Linked DNA regions of Homo sapiens: all the other regions are linked to region 1. Evidence: promoter capture Hi-C in 16 types of primary human blood cells and fetal thymus (Javierre and others, 2016). All regions are on one chromosome and are shown on one strand. Each heading gives the region's core, a stretch centred on a gene start or on the middle of the fragment in contact. The rest is flanking DNA. Distances are from core to core; before and after follow the strand shown.

Region 1 (3,279 bases), core at 124-2,623:
AATGCTTCCCAAGCCAAATATTGAAGAAATGCAGACGTCCAGTTTTTTGGGAGGGGTGGGACACAGGAGTCTGTTTTTTAACTAGCTCCCCAGAGCACCTGAGCAGCAAATCATGGGCTGTCCTAGCCCCTTTTCAGATGAGAAAGGAGCCCAGAGAGGGGAGAGGGCCTGCCAAGGTGGCACATCTGGCCAGGCGCTGCGTAGGCTGAGCCCTGGGGGTCAGACAGAGGGGCAGCTGCAGGCCCACCTGGGCTTGTGTCTTCCATAGGCCATGCTTGAGAATTCTCTGCTGCGTGAAGCCGGGTCTACCCCGCTGCTTCCCTGCCACCAGGGCTGCCTCGTGGCATCCCATTGCTCAGCCAGTGGCCCAGGATTGTTGACTGAGGGTCCTGTCTGGTCTGGACCAGGCTCGGTCCTATCATCTCCCTGCAGATTGTGCCTCCCTGGCCTGGCCCAGGGGCTCTGGCACCCTGGTTCTGCTGCATGGGGTGACAGTCACTGACCTGCAACCGAGCAAGGGGCAACTCAGGAGAGCCAAGGTTGTCTCCACTCGGTTTCCCCCGAGTGATTCTTCCTTCTATCTCCCTCATTCCCCCAGTGCCGCTCTCCTACCCCATGTCGCTGAAGCAGATGAGTTGGAGCAGGACTCAGGAGGGTACTAGGCCCAGGTTTTAGGCTGAACCTAGGAATGAGTAATGAGAGGAGGCAGATCAGCTGGAGGACCAGCCCGAGTCCCCAGATGTCGGCACAATGCAGGGGAAGGTAGGTGCTGCCCGTGAAAAGCGCTGGGTCGAGAGCTCGCCAGCCTCCCTGCTTGAGGCTTCATTTCCTGGGGTCCTTACACGGTGGGACCGTCTACAGTCGGAGCTGTGGTGGTGATGATTCGTCTCCTACAGGCTGGGGCACGCCCCCTCCCCTTTCCCTCTAGATTCAGATTTGAGTCCCACGGCCCATGGACACGCGATGAATGCCCTGGGGTTGGTTAGCGGGAAAGACAAGTCGACTTGAGGCCATGTCTCGGCTCTGGAGGAAGAAGGCAAACCGGGCAGCCTTCCCAGAAGTGGAGGAGTTTGCGTAGGCCTTCGGTGCGTTCTCGCCTGGGTGGAAGGCGGGGACGTGCATTTGTTGGAGAGCGGTGTCCTGCGCCCTAGGCTGGAAGCCTGGCCTCGGGCAGGGGCCTGGAGCCTCGGGGTTGGAGGTGGGGGGCGGGGCGGGGGGCGGCCCCTACTGGGCGGGCTTCTGTCTGCGCGCCCGCGCCCCCGACAGGCGGCTTATTTGCATGGAGAGCGGCGGCGGCCAATGGGCGCGCGCGGCCGGGCATGCTGGGATCGGGCTGGGCCGGCTGGGCCGTGGCGGCAGGCGGAGAGCGGCTGGACCGGCTCTGGGTGGCCGAGGCGGCAGCTGCGCGGCGGCACCGGGGCGGCTGCGGCGCGCTCGGAGCCCCGAGGGCACGCGGCCCGGGCAGCTCGGTGTGCGCCCCCGCGAGAGCCGGGGCCCCAGGCCCGCCGGACACCATGAACCACCTGGTGAGGGCGCCAGGTGGGGCCGGGCCGCGTACGGGCTTGGAGGCGGCAGCGGGCTGGAAGGGGTTAAGCGAGCGGCATTTCCTGCCGGACCTGCGGGGCCTGGGAACCGCCGGCCGGGGTCCGCGGCCCTGGGATCTCCTTCTGCCCTGGCCGGGAAGCCGGGAGGCAGGAACCGCGGGGGCTCCGGAGCCTGTGCGCCTCGGGTGCGTTGGCGGGGCCGGGCGCGGGGGCCGCCAGCCGGTAGGAGGGTTCCTGTGTCGGGAAAGTGGCTGGCGGGGCCCGCGCTCCCCGGCCGACGGCCGCCTGCTGTGTCACCTTGGGCCTCTGCGCCCTGCCTCCGAGCCTCAGTTTCCTCGGCTGCGAGGAGGGGCCGTTGAGCCTCTGGCGGGTGGTCCGGCTGGTGTGGCGTGGGGACTGCCCACCGGCTCCCGGAGAGGGAGGAGCTCCGGGGGACCGAGGCCGGGCGGGCAAGTGCGTGGCGCCAGCGGGGAAGGCTGCGCAGCCGGAGCACCCGGCTCCAGTTAATGATTCACTCCGGCCGCCGGCGCGGGGTTCCGGGAGCGGAGCGGGAGTGGGGGCGGGCGCGCCGCGGGCTTTGCAGCCCCGCACGCCGAGCGCCGGTGGAAGCCGGGTCCTGGCCACAGGAGTCCTAGCCGCACGCGAGTGTCGCGGGAGGGGGCCAGGGCCGGGTTCTGCAGTGTGGACATGAAGGCTTTGGAGTCCATGGTTGGGGGACCCGCAAGAGCTAGAGCAGGGTCGGAGCTCCCTCTCGAGGGTCCGAGAGGCTGATCGCTGGACCGAGGTGAGGGAGTTGGGAAAGCGGAGATTTGCCTAGGGGTGCGGGGTGAGGGGCTTACGGCCTGGAAGATGTTGGGGTTTCGAGTTCCAGATCGGGGACAGCAGCTCCTTTTCTACCACAAGGCTCCCGTTCCCTCCTGAGAGTCCCTGGTTTCCTTTCCCACACCCCTCCCGGGGCCCGCCGCAGCTTTGGTCACCTTCTCAGAATGACCATGGGTTGATCTCTTCTTTGCTAGTGAGATGTTTCCCATCGCCCTGGGCCGGGACACGCCCCCTCTTGTGCCCATTCCTTTCCCTCGGTGGAGAGTTGGGTGGTGGGGGCTGGCCGGCCTGTGAGAGCAGGTGTCGGGGTGCCTGGAGAATCGGGGCCCAGGTACGGGGGTGGCGGGGCTGTGGGGAAAAGAGCTTTGGGGAGGAGCTGCTGACACTTCCTCCTGGCACTGCTTGCCCGGGAGCTGGGTGGAGGCAGGGCAGGGCAGGGCAGTCCCAGGTTCTGCCAGGAAAGTCACCTTGGGCTGGGGCAGGAGGCTTGGAGCTTCTGGCCGTTACTGTTTGTCTGAGCAGGAGGGTGAGCACTGTGTACTGGTACCATGGCCCCAGGTCTAGGCGAGGGATGGAAATAAGGACAGTGCCACTAGGGCCTCCTGTCTGTACAGGAGGGGCCCTGAGACAGCTCCTCAAACCCCTTTCCCATTATACGGATGGTGCAGATGGGGACACTGAGGTACAGAGAGACAGTCAGTTGTCCTCAGAATTGGATCCAGAACCTCGTCTTCTGGCATGGCCCCCCAGTGCAGCACCACATGTGGCCTCCGAATTCCCAGTCTGGGATTGGGGGAGCTCTGGTCCTTGGGGGACCACCATGCTCTTTTGGAGTTGTCAACTTGGTAGGAACCCTCTGGTTCCAACGCTGTGCCTTTGCGGCCCTCTCCTGGCATCTGCTGTCCCTTTAGGA
Region 2 (3,071 bases), core at 37-2,536, 140 kb before region 1:
TTTTTTTTTTTTTGCGACGGAGTCTCGCTCTGTCGCCCAGGCCGGACTGCGGACTGCAGTGGCGCAATCTCGGCTCACTGCAAGCTCCGCTTCCCGGGTTCACGCCCTTCTCCTGCCTCAGCCTCCCGAGTAGCTGGGACTACAGGCGCCCGCCACCGCGCCCGGCTAATTTTTTGTATTTTTAGTAGAGACGGGGTTTCACCTTGTTAGCCAGGATGGTCTCGATCTCCTGACCTCATGATCCACCCCCGGCCCCACATTTTTAAAAAGAGTGTTGATTTTCCTAAAAAAGTGTGAGCTTTTTTAGGGTGGGCCTTCCCCATCTTTGCAGCCCTGGCTCTTAACAACAGAGTTATACTAGTATACTCTCTTAGGTTGCATTTACCCAGAAATAGACCCTGAGATAAAGGTTTAAGTGCATGTCATTTATGTGAGAGGTGATTCCAGGAAGCCCCAATAGAGAGGTACAAGAGAGGAAAGAAGCCAGTAAAGGTTGAGTTATCAAGCAGGTGACTGCTGGTGGTGACTGGCACTCATTCCTGCTGGGAAACTTAGAGATTGGGAAGAACACAGTGAGGGCTGAGGAGAGTGGGATGTTTAGCCTCCAGTGCCCATCGGACATTGGCTCAGAGCTGCTTCCACACATTCCTTGCCCTCTGTCCTCAGGCTGTGAGCTGCACGTGCTTGCTGTAAGATGCTGCTCTCAGCATGTATCATGGCACTGAATGCCAGGACATGTGGATGGGGCTACTTCCTCATCTGTTACATCTTTATCTACTTCATACTCAAGATATTTCTCTCCCACTGAGCAGAAGTCATGTAGTAGTTACACAGAAACCTATGGAGGAAGAGGATTTGACTGCTTGCTACCACAGTAGAAATGACATAAAATCAGATGAAGGCAGCTGTAGAACAAAATTCTACAGACCTGGCCCTGTTAATACTCTAAGCAAGTACTTTGTAAGCTGTGGTTTGGAATAATCAATTAAGAGAAAATATCAGAGCACATCACATGTAGTAGGAGTAAATACTGTTTTCCAGCCTGGCCAACATGGTGAAACCCCATGCCTACTCAAAATGCAAAAATTAGCTGGGCTTGGTGGCACATGCCCTTAATCCCAGCTACCTAGGAGGCTGAGGCAGCAGAATCGCTTGAACCCAGGAGGCAGAGGTCGAAGTGAGCTGAGATTGCACCACTGCACTCCCGCCTGGGCGACAGAGGGAGACCTTGTCTCAAAAGAATAAAGAATAAATAATGTTTTATAGAATTTTTATTTCAGTTACTTATATGCTTATACCTGGTAACAAGCTGTTTTTTTTTGTTGCTTTGTTTTGTTTTTGTTTTCAAGTTGGAGTCTCGCACTGTTTCCTGGGCTGGAGTGCAGTGGTGCAATCTTGGCTCACTGCAACCTTTGCCTCCTGGGTTCAAGCCATTCTCCTGCGTCAGCCTCCAGAGTAGCTGGGATTACAGGCACGTGCTGCCACGCCTGGCTAATTTTTTGTATTTTTAGTAGAGATGGGGTTTCACTATGTTGGCCAGGCTAGTCTTGAACTCCTGACTTCGTGATCCACCCCCTTCAGCCTCCCAAAGTGCTGGCATTACAGGCATGAGCCACTGCACCCATCCAACAAGCTGTATTTTTAATGAAGATTAGGATTTTTAAAATTTGAAGCTATAGGCTGAAACAACATGTTTTTGGCTTTACATTTATTGTATTGTTTGCAGGGAGTTCTCTTCAGACCAGTAGCTTTATTTATTTATTTATTTATTTTTTATTTTTTTGAGACGGAGTCTTGCTCTGTCGTCCAGGCTGGAGTGCAGTGGCGCGATCTCGGCTCACTGCAAGCTCCACCTCCTGGGTTCAAGCAGTTCCCTGCCTCAGCCTCCCGAGTAGCTGGGATTACAGGCGCCCGCCACCACACCTGGCTGATTTTTGTATTTTTAGTAGAGACGGGGTTTCACCATGTTGTCCAGGCTGGTCTTGAACTCCTGACCTCGGCCACCTGCCTCAGCCTCCCAAAGTGCTGGCATTACAGGTGTGAGCCACCACACCTGGCCACCCAGACCAGTAGCTTTCAAACTTTCTTGACTGCCGCCCATCATAAGGAATACATTTTACATTATGCCCTTGTACACCTATAAAAATAGGTATGTAAAAAGGTGAGATTAAAATTTGGTGAAATATTTACCCTTACTATGTATAATATGCTCTGATTTTCTGTTTTACATTATTGTGTATAGATGTGTCATTTAAAAAACTGTTATGACCTGCTGAATTGATTTCACAATCAACTGCAACCTGAATTTGACAAAATACTGCTCTAGACAACGTATGGAATTAGCCTTCAGCAGGTGATTAAGAGTTGCCAGGTTTGTATGTGGTATTATTAGTGTTTCTTGCACTTATTGAAAGTATTGCTATGAAGTTACCTCTGGATATAACCACCAGATGGAAATAAAGGCAAAGAAGCTCTTCTTAGGTTTCTGGTTAGTTTCAGCTAACACAGTTTTTACTTCTAGTTTCCTTGGATATTTCTTCTTAAAATAATCCCTGTTGATGCTTAGAGATTCTACTTGGAAACTGTATGTTTCAGAAAATACTCTTTGCTACTATAATTATGAAAATAACTAAAGAATGGAGAAATGGCAGCTTAAAATCAGCTTAAGTCACTCATGTAGAAATCTCACTGCTTGTCATATCCATGCCTGCCTTTCTTACAGCTAATATGCTTTTTAGAATAAGAAATCTGCTGAGATGATATCTGCATTAGGGAGATCCAGCAGGAAACAGATGGCATTCTCAAATATGATACTTTCTCACAAAGTGGTGGAAAACCACAGGGATACAAATATTGGTGTGGCCTCCCTGGGGCTGGTAATAATGAGACTCTATTACTACCCCTAGGCCTGAAAGGGCAAGAGTGGGAGCAGTTAATGGCAGGGGAAGAAAGGGTTAGGTGGAATGGACCTCCTGACAGGAGCTGAGACCTTCTGTTAAGTGATGGACTTCCCCCAGAGGGAAGCCAAGGGAATAAATACCCAGATCTGTTTCTTCTCTCTCTGCAGCCTC
Region 3 (2,889 bases), core at 321-2,820, 200 kb before region 1:
CATGGGCCGCCATAACAAAATACCACAGACTAGCTGTCTTAAATAACAGACATTATCTCCTCAGTTCTGGAGGCTGGAAGGCTGGGATTAGGGTGCCAGGATGGTTGGGTTCTGGTGAAGACCCTCTTCCTGACTTGCAGATGGCTGCCTTCTCACCATGTCTTCACATGGCAGAGAGAGAGAGGTATCAAGAGATTGAGAATCTCTTCCTCTCCTAAGACCACAGTCCTGTAGGGTTTAACACAGGAATAGTAGGGGCACATAATTCAGCCCTTAGCACTTGGATGGCATACCTGTGTTCCAACCTGCTTTCCTGGAAATTACCAGCTTCGTGTGTTTCTGGGATATTAAGGCTTTGCCTCCCAGTTCAAGGCCTCAGTGGTTCTGTGGCAGCTGGTAGGAAGCCAGGCTCCAGCAGTGCCTTGAGTTACTGCAGAAAGCAGAGCTTCTCTCTAAAACTCTGGCAGCTCCAGCAGAAGCCCTGGATAGCAGGGACCCAGGGCTGATCTCAGGTCAGTATGGGGCAGACAGCAGCCAGGTGAAGATTGTTCTGAGTTCTTGGAGGCAGGTTTGCATCCCATTTGTCCACTTTGGACCAGTGAATTCCTGATGCCATCATAGAATTTTCTGTAGACTAGGTGTTGGGGTAGTCAGGATCAGATTGATTTGGGAGTGGCACGTGAGGACTCGGGATAGAAGATGGTCTTTCTGCTTTGGAAGAGAAGCATGGTGCTGTGTGGGGGCTTGGGGATGAGCTGGCGGTGGGTGGTGGACAGGGGGCCTCAGCTGGGAGGCCAGGCCACTCTTGACTGATCCAGGGGCCACAGTAGCTGCCCAGGCAGGAGAGATTTGTGTGGGCACCAGAGCTCTGGCAGGTGCACATTTGTTAGGGAGGAGCAGTATCCAGATGCAGGCACTGCTCCCTCTGGAGTTGCTGCCAGCCAGGGAGGGTGCGTCTCTGGGCAGCGAAAGGCAGGAATAGCTCCTGGCCTAATGGCGGCTAGAAGAGAAACTGCAGGAGGATATGGGTTTGTTGTGGAAGAGGTGGGGGCTGAAACCCTGAGGACCAAGAATCCTGCCCTCAATTTCTGATTGACACTATTGACTAAGGCTGACTTTTTTCATTGGTGGAGGAAGACTCCTGAGTCGCCAGGATTACAGGCTTGCGCCACCCCACCTAGCTAATTTTTATATTTTTTGGTCGAGACGGTTTCGCCGTGTTGGCCTGGCTGTTCTGGAACTCCTAACCTCAGATGATCCACCCGCCTCAGCCTCCAAAGTGCTGGTATTACAGATGTGACCCACTGTGCCCGGCCTCATTTGTTATTTTTAATAAGCATTGAGACCTAATTGGGGCATCCTTGATGTTTTCACCGAGAACCATTTATCCAAAACAAGACCTGAGCACTCTCACTGGAAGTGTTCAGAATATGCTCTGAATTGAAGCTTTATTAACTCAAAATGGGCAAAGAATTTGAGCAGTCATCTGTGACAATGTCAAGGGTGGGTTAAGGGGATTTGGCTCCACCCCTATCTCCAATAGCCCCTTAAATCCAGCTTCTCAACAAGATTAAGAAGCCTGTGTAAAGGGAATAAAAATACCTTCATAAAACTGTGGTTTTCATTGATCTGGGGGAAAAAACACACACACTAACAGTGTGCTTACAGTGCTAATACAGCTTCAGTAAAGCTTCTGGTCCTCCTCTCCTCCCCCTTTCTAATCCCCTCAAGCGGATTGATGCCCCTGACTGGTCTCTTTTAAATTGTTTATCCCAATAAGCTCATTCTTCCTGAGCAGTTCTTGTGAAAACAAAAGCTTTGTTTTTTCTTACCTTGTTTTTCTTTTTAAAGTCTAGCTCTCTTGCCCTCGGCTCATTGCGACCTCTGCCTCCTGGGTTCAAGCGATTCTCGGGCTTCAGCCTCCTGAGTAGCTGGGATTACAGGCATTTGCCACCACGCCCGGCTAATTTTTACGTATTTTTAGGAGAGACAGTGTTTCACCATGTTGGCTAGGCTGGTCTTCAACTCCTGGCTTCAAGTGGTGGGATTACAGGCACGAGCACCATGCCTGGCCTATCTAATAATTATTTATTAAATAAACATGCTCAGTACATAGAAGCATTTCCACATGAGTGTTTATTGTGTTTGTTTTCTCAAAAACAGGATCTTATTCTACATGCAACTGGCTTTTGTTACTTCACAATGTGGCTTGGGCATCTTGCCCCTTCAGTATATATACATCTATTGCATTTTTTTTTTTTTTTTTGAGACAGTGTCTCGCTCTGTCACCCAGGCTGGAGTGCAGTGGCGTGATCTCGGCTCACTGCAAGCTCCGCCTCCCGAGTTCACACTATTCTCCTGCCTCAGCCTCCCAAGTAGCTGGGACTACAGGTGCCCGCTGCCTTGCCCAGCTAATTCTTTGTATTTTTAGTAGAGACGGGGTTTTACCGTGTTAGCCAGGATGGTCTCAATCTTCTGACCTCGTGATCTGCCTGCCTCAGCCTCCCAGAGTGCTGGGATTACAGGCGTGAGCCACTGTGCCCAGCCCATCTATTGCATATTTTAATGGGACTTTGTAGTATTACGTGGGTGCACAGAATGTGTTTTCCAAATTCTGCAGTGATAGCCATGCAGGTGACTTCTAGTTTTTGATATTATGGACAATGCTGTTGGGACCTTCTTGTTACCTCTGTCCTTGCCTACCTATGCTTTTCTGTGGGGTGTATCCCCGGAAGTAAAATTGTTGCAGCAAGGGCCATGCACATTTGACTTCCAAATTACCCTGCAAAAAGGTGGTTTTCCAGTTTGTATTCCAACTAGGAGTGTCAGGTGGGGCCTGTGGAATAATGTCATGACAACCGTTACTGCTCAAAACCTATACTGGCACTT

What was found. Contacts are between HindIII fragments. The CHiCAGO score rates a contact against its expected background, and 5 or more counts as called.
Region 2: a fragment that was not itself captured here is called in contact with the fragment with the promoter of BCAR1 in region 1 in 3 of 17 cell types (M1 macrophages, endothelial precursors and M2 macrophages); the score reaches 9.3 in M1 macrophages.
Region 3: a fragment that was not itself captured here is called in contact with the fragment with the promoter of BCAR1 in region 1 in 1 of 17 cell types (M1 macrophages); the score reaches 5.6 in M1 macrophages.

What each region holds. Positions count from the first base shown.
Region 1 is chr16:75,249,718-75,252,996 of GRCh38, reverse strand. BCAR1 (BCAR1 scaffold protein, Cas family member) reads left to right here and starts at 1,373. Exons shown (of 7, transcript NM_014567.5): 1 at 1,373-1,526. The coding sequence starts at 1,515. RefSeq lists enhancers at 1-80, 621-1,161 and silencers at 1,161-1,270, 1,331-1,490. The HindIII fragment of the contact is 27,287 bases long and covers 1-3,279 here.
Region 2 is chr16:75,390,680-75,393,750 of GRCh38, reverse strand. All of the region lies in intron 5 of CFDP1 (craniofacial development protein 1), which reads left to right. Among named protein-coding and RNA genes, the nearest start is that of CFDP1, 41 kb to the left of the region's middle. The HindIII fragment of the contact is 5,149 bases long and covers 1-3,071 here.
Region 3 is chr16:75,454,734-75,457,622 of GRCh38, reverse strand. The region is part of intron 1 of TMEM170A (transmembrane protein 170A); the gene reads left to right. Among named protein-coding and RNA genes, the nearest start is that of TMEM170A, 8.5 kb to the left of the region's middle. RefSeq lists an enhancer at 667-1,168. The HindIII fragment of the contact is 244 bases long and covers 1,449-1,692 here.